2 separate regions of the Homo sapiens genome follow, and region 2 is linked to region 1. The links are contacts of gene promoters, found by promoter capture Hi-C in human tissues and cell types (Jung and others, 2019). All regions are on one chromosome and are shown on one strand. The core of a region is centred on a gene start or on the middle of the fragment in contact, and the rest is flanking DNA. Distances in the headings are between cores, read along the strand shown.

Region 1 (4,979 bases), core at 814-3,313:
AGGTACTGCAGGAGGAGGTAAAGCCTGGACTCAGGGCAGGGCAGGTGCAGTGAAGACTCCTAAAGCAGCCTAGGGACTCGTGGGTGTGTGGAAGGAAGAAGTGTTGAAGGAAATAGGGAGAAGGTCATTCTCTGTGGGACAGACTTAGCTCCAAATGTGATTTTCACCATGTTCATGATTTTTCTTCCGTTTGAATTTGATAGACACATTGCAACACATCCCATTTCGCTGATTTTCAAATAAGGACTTGATCACTGGCAAGTGACCTTACAGCAAACATAAAGAAATCAACATTTGGAAGTGCATTTGCCAATTAGTGCTCTAGGCGGCAGAAAAACCAGACCGCCACCCCTTGAAGACCTGCCACAAAGAGCCATGTGGAAAAACTGCACAGAGAAATGGTGGTTGTGAACAAGAGTACTGCCCTGGAATGAAAGGTTTTAGGCTATGTTGGACTCACTGAAAAAAGAAAGGTTAGTCTCATTAGAAAGTTTACCTGGCTCTAAGAAAATAATTACTTATCTGCTAACACAACTTCCATAGCAATGAAACAAGTTCCTGTAAGTATAAATTATCACAATTCCAAGCAGACAAAAATCTGTGTCTCCTGAACACATTATAGGGGTCAGCCTATAGATAACTCCATTATAGGGGTCCTCCTAAAGATAACCTAAGTTATCTTGCATATTGTGTCTGCAGTGTCCACAATGAGTTGGTCTGTATTCACACTGGATGATACAGGATTTCTCCACCAGGTCCTCTCACAGGACTCCAGGCATTTTTACAACTTGACCACACAAAAGAACACTCAGGCTGCTCCTCCCTTGCTCAAGGGAAGTACAGTAATGCCTCTCTCCGTAGCCCTTTCATAAGACTGTGCATAGATAAACACAGGTGTATACATAGCAATCTTTATGAACTTTGCATTGAATGTGTCAAAGAACAGTGGCGGTCCCAACATTCCATCCATTGTCTCAATCAGGAAAGCTACTCCTGAGACCTCAGGAAAGAGGAGGAAAAAATTCAAGTAACACATATGTTTACGAAACACTTCAGTAACAAAACAAAATACTTGTATTGGAGAGAAAATATATATATTTTTAATCACAAGGCATAGAAAGTAAAAATAATCAGCCTTAATTAGGTTTCCTTCATTAGTTGACAATGTAAATGGACTGAAACTACTACTCAAATATTCAAACCTTCATTTTACATGCAAGTGGCTTCCAGAAAATGATAAAGCAATATTCCCATGTGAGTGTGAAAGATGGCAATGAATTCTGGCCCATTATAAAGGAAGAGTCAGATTCCACTAGTCACTGCTTCGTTTAACTGCCAGGCTTTTAGGGAGCTATTTAATAAAAGGGGTCTCGCCCTAATAAATTGTGAGCGGTGTAAATAGGTGAGTGGTGTAAATATCTGAAATAGCCTGCACTCAATGAGGCTGTAGACCGCTTGGGGTTCACAGACTTTACAAAAATCATTCCGTAAAAAAATTACGTAGTGACAATCCTACCATTTAAAAAGAATAATGATGGTGATAATAATAGCTGGACAGGATCCTCCACTGCTGCCTGCTTCCCACATAAGTTGCCCAGCTGAAGGTGGTTAAGTTAAAGCCAGTTCTCTCCCCATTAGAGATGCGGGCTGGCAGCTGGCGGGGGAAGTCACCCAGTTTCCAGCTCCCCGTGGGTTTGACGGGACTGGGATTGCAACTGGGAACTAACTGGCTTGTAGGAAGCCCAGGTGGCTCAGACAGGGCTCGAGCTGTCCCCTCACCACCTTCCTCCCACGCAGACACCAAGTTAGATACGCAACTCCACGAGCACAATGACAAGAAGGCACACAAAAGGAGCAAGGCAGCCGCTCCCATCCTTACCTTTGACTTGACTTTCATACTCGGCTATGATCTCTTTGTCCTTCTTGAATCGGCTCGGGGTGGACATTATCCAGCTGTTCCGGGTTTGCTTTCAATGGGCAAGTTTTGTTCAGTGGTCACAACCCGTTCTCCTTGGAGAGGCAGAGTTGTACTCCCACACGCAGGCAATCCAGAGGCAGCGCCGACCCGAGGGAAGGGAGGAGGGAGAGGAGAAGTAGGAGGAGGAGGGGAAAAAGAGCGAGTAGAGAGGACTAGATTAGCCCGGGCGCTGGCACCATACTCTCGAAATTGAGCTCCGTCGGTAATCCCAGGGGATCCCCGGGGGAGAGGCCGGACGCGCAGGCAAACTCCAGCCAGCGAGTGGCGGGGGACGTCTCCCTGCCCACCTCGCCGGGAGCCCGGCCACTTCCTCTACGGCCGCTGGGCGGGCGCGGGGCTCGCGCCGGCGCTCCGCACCATTGTTCGAGACCCGCACCGGGCGCCCGGGACAGGGCCAGCGGCGGAGGGCAGGCGCTGGGAACGCGCCCAGCTCGGGCGCCACAACCCTCCCTTCCTGCCTCCAGCTGTCGGCTCCGGCGCTCAAGGGTCCCGCCCGGGCTGGGGATGCTGCTGCCACGGCCGCCGCTCCTCTGCCCGCAGACACTGCCGCTACAGCTCGGCAGGCGAAAGGAATCGCAGTCCTGACGCGAGTCCCCGCTGCTGCTGAGAGGGTGAAGGCGGCGACGCTCAGACGCGCCCTGGGCACAGCCCCGGCGGAGTTTAGGTCTCCAGAGCCGGCGCCGCGAGGGGCCTCTGCCTCCCTGGCCGCGGTGCGCCGAGGCTGCCTTTCTCTGCGTCCCCCTTTCCGCTGCTGCCCCCAGGAGGCCGCTAGTGACAGGCACACTCGCACACGCACGCGGGAGCCGCGCCCCCGGCGGCAGCAAAGTTGAGGGTGCGCACACGGCTCGCGCCTCGCGGGCGCCCGGCTAGCGATCTGCGGGCGGTGGCTCCTCGGGGCTCCGCCAGGCGGGGCCAGGCTCGCGGGAGCGGACCGCGCTCCGGCCTGTGCCCTTCTCCGTCCAAGCTCCCGCCCCTGCTCCGCTAGGAAACGCCTGGCTGGTCCGGGAAGATGGATGCCTCTTGTGGCCAACCGCAGCCCGGCCCCGCGCGCCGAGCCCAGGAGGCCGTGGGCGGCGCCCCCGGCACCTCCCTCCGCCGAGGCCCCGCACCTCCCTCCGCCGAAGCCCCGCTCCACCGCTAGCCGAGGTCGCGGCTCCGGCGGCAGGAAAACCCCTTCCTGACCTGAGGGACCGCCTTCTGGCTCTGGCGGGGGCTCTGGTGGGGCTTTTGCCAGAATCTAATGGGGAAGTCCAGAGTTGGATGTATCCATGACACAAAGGGATGTTACTCCGAGACGCTGGACCCCAATAGAAAAACTGAACACTGAATTGTGAATGACCTGGCTGTTAATCCAAAGAGCGCGAAGCTCTTCAATCGAGGCGGAGAAAAACACCCACCTTGAACACCATATCCTCTATTCCTACAGTAGATAGGGAAGCTAGGATGGTAGGAAAGCGATGGTATGGAAACACGTCACACTTAACGGCGTTGTTAGCTTATTTATTTACTAAACTCCAGATTTTATTCCAATTTTACCAATTTTTTCGACTAGTGTCATTTTTTCTGTTCCAAGATCCAACACAGGACACTACATTGCACTTAGTACTTTTACGGTTGTTTTTGTTTTTGTTTTTTGATTTTGTTTTTTGGGGGTTTTTTTTGAGACGGGGTCTCACTCTCGCCCAGGCTGGAGTGCAGGGGCACGAGCTCCGCTCACTGCAACCTCCGCCTCCCGGGTTCAAGTGATTCTCCTGGCTCAGCCTCCAGAGTAGGTGTGACTACAGGCGCCCGCCACCGTGCCTGGGTAATTTTTGTATCTTTAGTAGAAACAGGGTTTTGCCATGTTGGTCAGGCTGGTCTTGAACTCCTGACCTCAAGTGATCCGCTCACCTCGGCCTCCCAAAGTGGTAGGATTACAGGTGTGAGCCACGGCGCCCGGCCACGTTTTTAATAGATACCTTTTACAAGATCTATCGTGTCTAGTCTCTTTTTATTTTATTTGTTTGTTTGTTTTCATTTTAGTACAGACGGGGGTCTCCCTATGTTGTCCAGGCTGGTCTCAAACTCTAGTCTCTTTTTGAACAATATAACGAAGAATTTACCTTGCCATCTTTGCATGGTTCAGGTGTTGTGTTAAGTACTTTAAATCCATCCTTGCCAGCCTTTTAAATTTTTTTTTATTATTTTTACTTTTTTGTAGAGATGAAGCCTTGCTCTATGGCCCAGGCTGGTCTCAAACTCCTGGCCTCAAAAGATTCTGGCTGGGCACGGTGGTTTACACCAGTAATCCCAGCACTTTGGGAGGCCGAGGTGGGCAGATCACAAGGTCAAGAGTCCGAGACCAGCCTGGCCAACATGGTGAAACCCCATCTCTACTAAAAATATAAAACTTAGCCGGGCATGGTGGCATGTGCCTATAATCCCAGCTACTCAGGAGGCGGAGGCAGGAGAATCGCTTGAACCCAGGAGGTGGAGGTTGCAGTGAGCCAAGATTGCACCACTGCACTCCAGCCTGGGCGACAGAGGGAGACTCCTTCTCAAAAAAAAAAAAAAAAAAAAAAAAGAAAATCCTCCGACCTCAGCCTCCCAAAGCACTGGGATTACAAGCATCAGCCACCACACCTGGTTCTGTTAGCCTTTTTGACTCACACCACTTGAGATATTTACTGACTCCTTTCAAATCAATTCTCAAATATTATGGGCCTGATTTATCAAAATGATGTGTCCAAAGGTGTATCCCCTCAAGTGTTTTCCCCACAAGATCTAAAGAAAGTAGGGACTTTTAGACTTTGATCATTCTTTCATGTATCCAGTGATCGGCTCTCCAGTTCTTAACTCTGTGCCAAACACCACGCTAGGAACTAGGGATTCAAAGATTAAGACTGCCGGAAAGGATCATGCAGTCTATTACTGTATAAATAAATAATTACAAGCAGTACAATAATGCTGTAAGAGATAGAAATACTCCCAGTCTTGGGAGCACTGGGGATGGAAAAACAGA
Region 2 (4,979 bases), core at 1,831-4,330, 80 kb after region 1:
CATGCCACCATACCTGGCTAATTTTTTTTTTTTTTTTGGTATGTTTTGTAGAGGCGGGGTTTTGCCACGTTGCTCAGGCTGGTCTTAAACTCCTGGAATCAAGTGATCCTCCTGCCTTGGCCTCTCATAGTGCTGGGATTAAAGGTGTGAGCCACCATGCCTGGCCTTCAAATGAAATTTCTTTGTGGCAAAATGGCAAGCTATGTCTCTGACACTGTGGTAATACCCGCACAGCCAACTCAATAGCTTCAGACCGGACTCTCCTTGCTTATTGTCTTAAAAGTTACTATGGGTAACGTTTGAACAACAGTTGGCATAATTCATGTCCCAAGTATGTATGTAGCTATGTGCAAAACATGTCACACAGTCAGCCTGAACAAATGATATCTGAATCATATGACCCAATTTTCTAGTTTAAACAAAAATAGTATAGGCTTGAAATTTATCTATGATTCAAATAAATGTTGGGGGTTTTGATGTGGGAAATTTAAATACATTTTGTAGTAGATTTTGTGCTCCTTGCTCTGACATCGTAGCTTCTTGAGTCAGCAAAAGAGAAAGGTTAATAAAGGTGGCACTGTCCAAAAAAAAAATCACTGAAAATTTTTGGATAAAACAATACTGTCAAGATGAATTATTCCAAAATGCAGTTTTTAAAAACTGCATTTAAAGAAAGTGAACAGAGGAGGGAGCTGTAGGTAGAATTTTAACCACATGCATACCACTATCTTTATATTAGAGATTTCTGATATATGCTAATATAAATGTACACATTACTAAAAAATTATATTACACATAAAAATTGTATGCTTATGTATCTGTGAATTGGAGATGTTTGCTTGCAGGTTAAAAAAAGAATGTTATAAGGTTGATTCTAGGTTTGTTATTAAGGATACCTGTGTTCACAAATGATGTCCCTTTTTTTAAATTCTTTTTTTTGTGAGGTCATTTTTTAATTTAATTTAATTTTAATTTTAATTTTGAGACCGGGTCTTGTTCTGTTATCCAGGCTGTAGTGCAGTGGTGTGATCATGGCTCACTGCAGCCTTGACTTCCTGGGCTCAGGCAATCCTCCCACCTCAGCCTCTTGAGTAGCTGGGACTATAGGCAAGTGCCACCATGTCCAGCTAGTTAAATTTTTTTTTTTAAGAGATGGGGTCTCTCTATGTTGCTTAGGCTGGTCTTGAGCTTCTGGGCTCATGCAGTCCTCCCACCTCAGCCTCCCAAAGTGCTGCGATTATAAATGTGAGCTACATGCCTAGCCAAGGTCACTCTTTCATAAGTAAACCATGTTTCTCAGGTTACACCAATCAAGTGGGCAAAGTGAATTAATAATAACAATTTTAAAAAAGAAAGATTTCTTGGCTCTGCCACTATCACTTTGCATGAACGCTTGTCTCCTCCTTGATATTCCTGCTACAAATATCTCTTCCCCCGTAGCCTTTGTTATTCACCTCCTCCTTCACCTTGGTTTGCCGTGGTGCCATCTTCGTCTTCTGTATGAAACACCTAGGTAAAGCTCAGTGAAGTTGCCTTCATTACTGCTGCTGGGAGAGGTCTACACTGACACTTCCCTGCCATATTGATACAAGTGGTACTAATATTAATATTAATATTGGTGCCAAGGGTCTCTTGCCACTGCCAATATTGCTGGTATGGTATCCACTAACTATGCAAAATATTGTCAACAGTGCTGCTTATATACAGCTCCTTTATCCTCTGCTCATTTTTCATCCTAAATAGATCTCTTTAGTTTTATTTCCATCAGGCCTTAAAATATGCCCAGTCTTGCCTGTATAAAGGCTGTTTAGAATCAAGCTTGGATCTTACAAAGATTTTAGGACAATTGTATTGCCATTTTTTGCAAAAGCCAGAGAGGGAGGGGGGACCCCTATTACTGTGTATATCTGAGATAATATAATCTGGTTTGAACTTGTTCATGGAGCTGAAGATAAATGTATCTTCAGCAACCATTCATTGAATAACCTATTCTCTATTATTATTTTTCTGTTCAGATACATAAACAGATCTGTGCTATATTGCTGTCTGGTCTCACATCAATTCTATTCTATACATATGAACAAGTTCAATTTAGGCAATGTTTATTTCTAGAGGTAATTTTTTCCCTTTGGCATGTGTATATAAAAACTTTCCACTGCTGTAAACCCTTCCTTCCTTCCTTTCATCCTTTTTTCCCCTTCCTTCCTTCTTTCCTTCCTTCCTTCCTTCCTTTCATCCTTTTTTCCCCTTCCTTCCTTCTTTTGTTCCTTCCTTCCTTCCTTCCTTCCTTCCTCCCTCCCTCCCTCCCTCCCTCCCTCCCTCCCTCCCTCCCTGTTTTCCTTCCTTCTTCTCTTTCAACAATTTTCCATGGGTCTGTCATGTTTCTGTATGTCTTGTGAGGAAAGGCGTTGGGCCATCTTTGTTCTGGACTGTTTTCTCAAGGATGTTTGTTAGCAAAGAGCCTTGGAAGATGGAGGTAGTGTCTTCCTCTGGAGAAAAAAAAGCAAGGTTATTTACTGCCCAGTATCATAAAGAATGATTTTCTTCGGGGCGAAAAGTTCAAGCAGGCTTACTGCCCATCATAAAAGATTTGGGTTTCCCAAGCTCAAGGATCCTCAGCTGTGAGGCAAACCCACTGCGTGAGCAGCATCCACTTGGAGCCCTCTGGCTTGCCTGGCAGAGGTAGAGGCAAGGGGAACTGGCATGAAACATGATCCTTAGGCTACTTGCTGTGCCTTGGTCTTTGACCCAGGAGTCTTGGGTCTTCTGCCAGCATCTGTGGAACTGTGGCAGGCTGATTTATTAGCTTACAAGTAAGGTAAAACCTCAGACCCTTCACAGTTTCTGATTCTGTCTTCCCAGCATTAAGATTCCTTTTGAAGAATACCAAGTCCATATGAAAGACTTTATAAATAATAATGCATAAGTACAGATTCGTTAGTGTAGGCTGTTTAATTGTTGACTGATTTCTGATGGAAAAGTCTGACAAGATGTTCACAGCTCATATTTTCTGAGAGTTTCAGTTTTTGACAGATTGATCTTTTAAAATATTAGGTTGTTGAAGTTCTTATTTTCTTATTAATCTCCTATTAATGTTAAACTTCATTGGGACTTTATCTTCCTAAAATACATATATAACTCGTAAAGTTACTCACAGTATTTCAAATATTTGAAGCCACCCATGATAGTCTATTTTATCTCCCTGAGTCTCCTGTATGAGCTAAAATTTCTCCAATTGCTTTAAGTGGTGTGGTTTTGAGTCTGATCACCATTCTATACTTTCCTCTGAAAAAGTTTCACTACAAAATGTGGCATCTCATTTTTCTTTTCCTTCTTTCCTTTCCTTTCCTCCTTTCTTCTTTTCTGTTCTCTTTTCCTTCCTTCCTCTCTCTTTCTTTCTCTCTCCTTCCTTCCTTTCTTTCTTTCTGCTTCTTTCTTTCTTTCTTTCTTTCTTTCTTTCTTTCTTTCTTTCTTTCTCCTTCTCCTTCCTTCCTTCCCCTTCCTTCCTTCCTTTTCTTTTCTTTTCCTTTCTCTTTCTCTCTTTCTTTATTTCTCTTTCTCTTTCTGTCTCTTTCTCTCTCTCTCACTTTCTTTCTTTTCTTTCTTTCTTTCTTTCTTTTTCCTTCTTTCTTTCTTTCTTTCTCTTTCTTTCTCTCTTTCTTTCTTTCTTTCTTTCTTTCTTTCTTTCTTTCTTTCTTTCTTTCTTTCTTTCTCTCTTTCTTTCTTTCTTTCTTTTCCCCTCTGTCTCTCTTTTTCCTTTCTTGACAGTATCTCACTCTGTCACCCAGGCTAGAGTGCAGTGGCATGATCATAGCTCACTGGACCCAAGAACTTCTGGGCTCAAATGATCTTCTTGCCCCAGCCTCCTGAGTAGCTGGGACTACAGGTGCATGCCACTATGCCCAGCTAATTTTTAAAATTTTTTGAAGAGATGGGGGCCTTGTTTTGTTGCCCAGGCTGGTCTCGAACTCCTGGGCTCAAGTGATCCTCTTATCTCGGCCTCCCAAAGTGCTGGGATTACAGGTATAAGCCACTGTGGCCAGTCCCATATTTCTATACACTAGCAATGTATGGTTGTAAATGGAAAAAATATTAATAACTATACAATTTATAATAGTTCCCTGTCCCCTCAAAAAGAAAGAATTTAAGTATAACTCTAACTTAAAAGTATCCAGGATATGTATGCTGAGCACTAAAGAAAACACTACCTGCCTGGGCAACATGGTGAAACCCCGTCTCTACCAAAAATACAAAAATTAGCCAAGCGTAGTGGTGCACGCCTGTAGTCCCGGCTACTCAGGATGCTGAGATAGGGAGATGGTTTGAGTTTGGGAGGCTAAGGTTGCAGTGAGCTGTGATTGTGTCATTGCACTCCAGCCTTGGTGACACAGCCAGACCCTGTCTCAAAGAAAAAATAAAAATAAAAAACACTAAAGAACAAAACAAAAATGAAAGACCTAAATAAATAAATGAAGAGTGATAACTCTGTTCATGGATTGAAAGACTTAATTAACATATCAATCATTCCCTAATTGATATATAGATTTTAATAAATTCAAATAAAAATCCAAGCAGGATATTCTGTAGAAACAGACAAGCTTGTTTTAAAGTTACATAAAAAGACAAAGGAACTGTAATAGCCAAAACAATTTTGAAGAAAAAAAAAGTTTGAGGAAGTACCATATTTGATTTTAAGACTTCTGATGAAGTCACAGTAATCAAGGCAGTATGATATTTGTGAAACAGTAGGCCCGTAGATCAGTGAAACAGAATAGAGCCCAAAAGTAGGTGCATAATGAGATAGTTAATTGACTTTGACAAAGGTGCAAAAGCAATTCAATGAAGAGTATTTTCTTTCAACAAATGATGTTGGAATAATTGCACATCCATATCCAAAAAAGTCCTAATTTTTATACCTTATACCAAAGTTAACTTGAAGTAGATTGTAGATCTAAATGTAAAATTATAAAGGTTTTAGA

Evidence for each region. Contacts are between HindIII fragments. The study calls those that stand out against the background at their distance.
Region 2: a fragment that was not itself captured here is called in contact with the fragment with the promoter of SRGAP1 in region 1 in 2 of the 25 tissues and cell types used here (heart left ventricle and mesendoderm cells).

Annotation. Positions count from the first base shown.
Region 1 is chr12:63,841,784-63,846,762 of GRCh38, reverse strand. SRGAP1 (SLIT-ROBO Rho GTPase activating protein 1) reads right to left here and starts at 2,063. Exons shown (of 22, transcript NM_020762.4): 1 at 1,880-2,063. The coding sequence starts at 1,946. RefSeq lists silencers at 2,221-2,480, 2,591-2,650, 2,711-3,130 and enhancers at 2,057-2,556, 2,557-3,058. The HindIII fragment of the contact is 18,473 bases long and covers 1-4,979 here.
Region 2 is chr12:63,762,410-63,767,388 of GRCh38, reverse strand. No RefSeq gene overlaps it. Among named protein-coding and RNA genes, the nearest start is that of RXYLT1, 15 kb to the left of the region's middle. The HindIII fragment of the contact is 5,556 bases long and covers 303-4,979 here.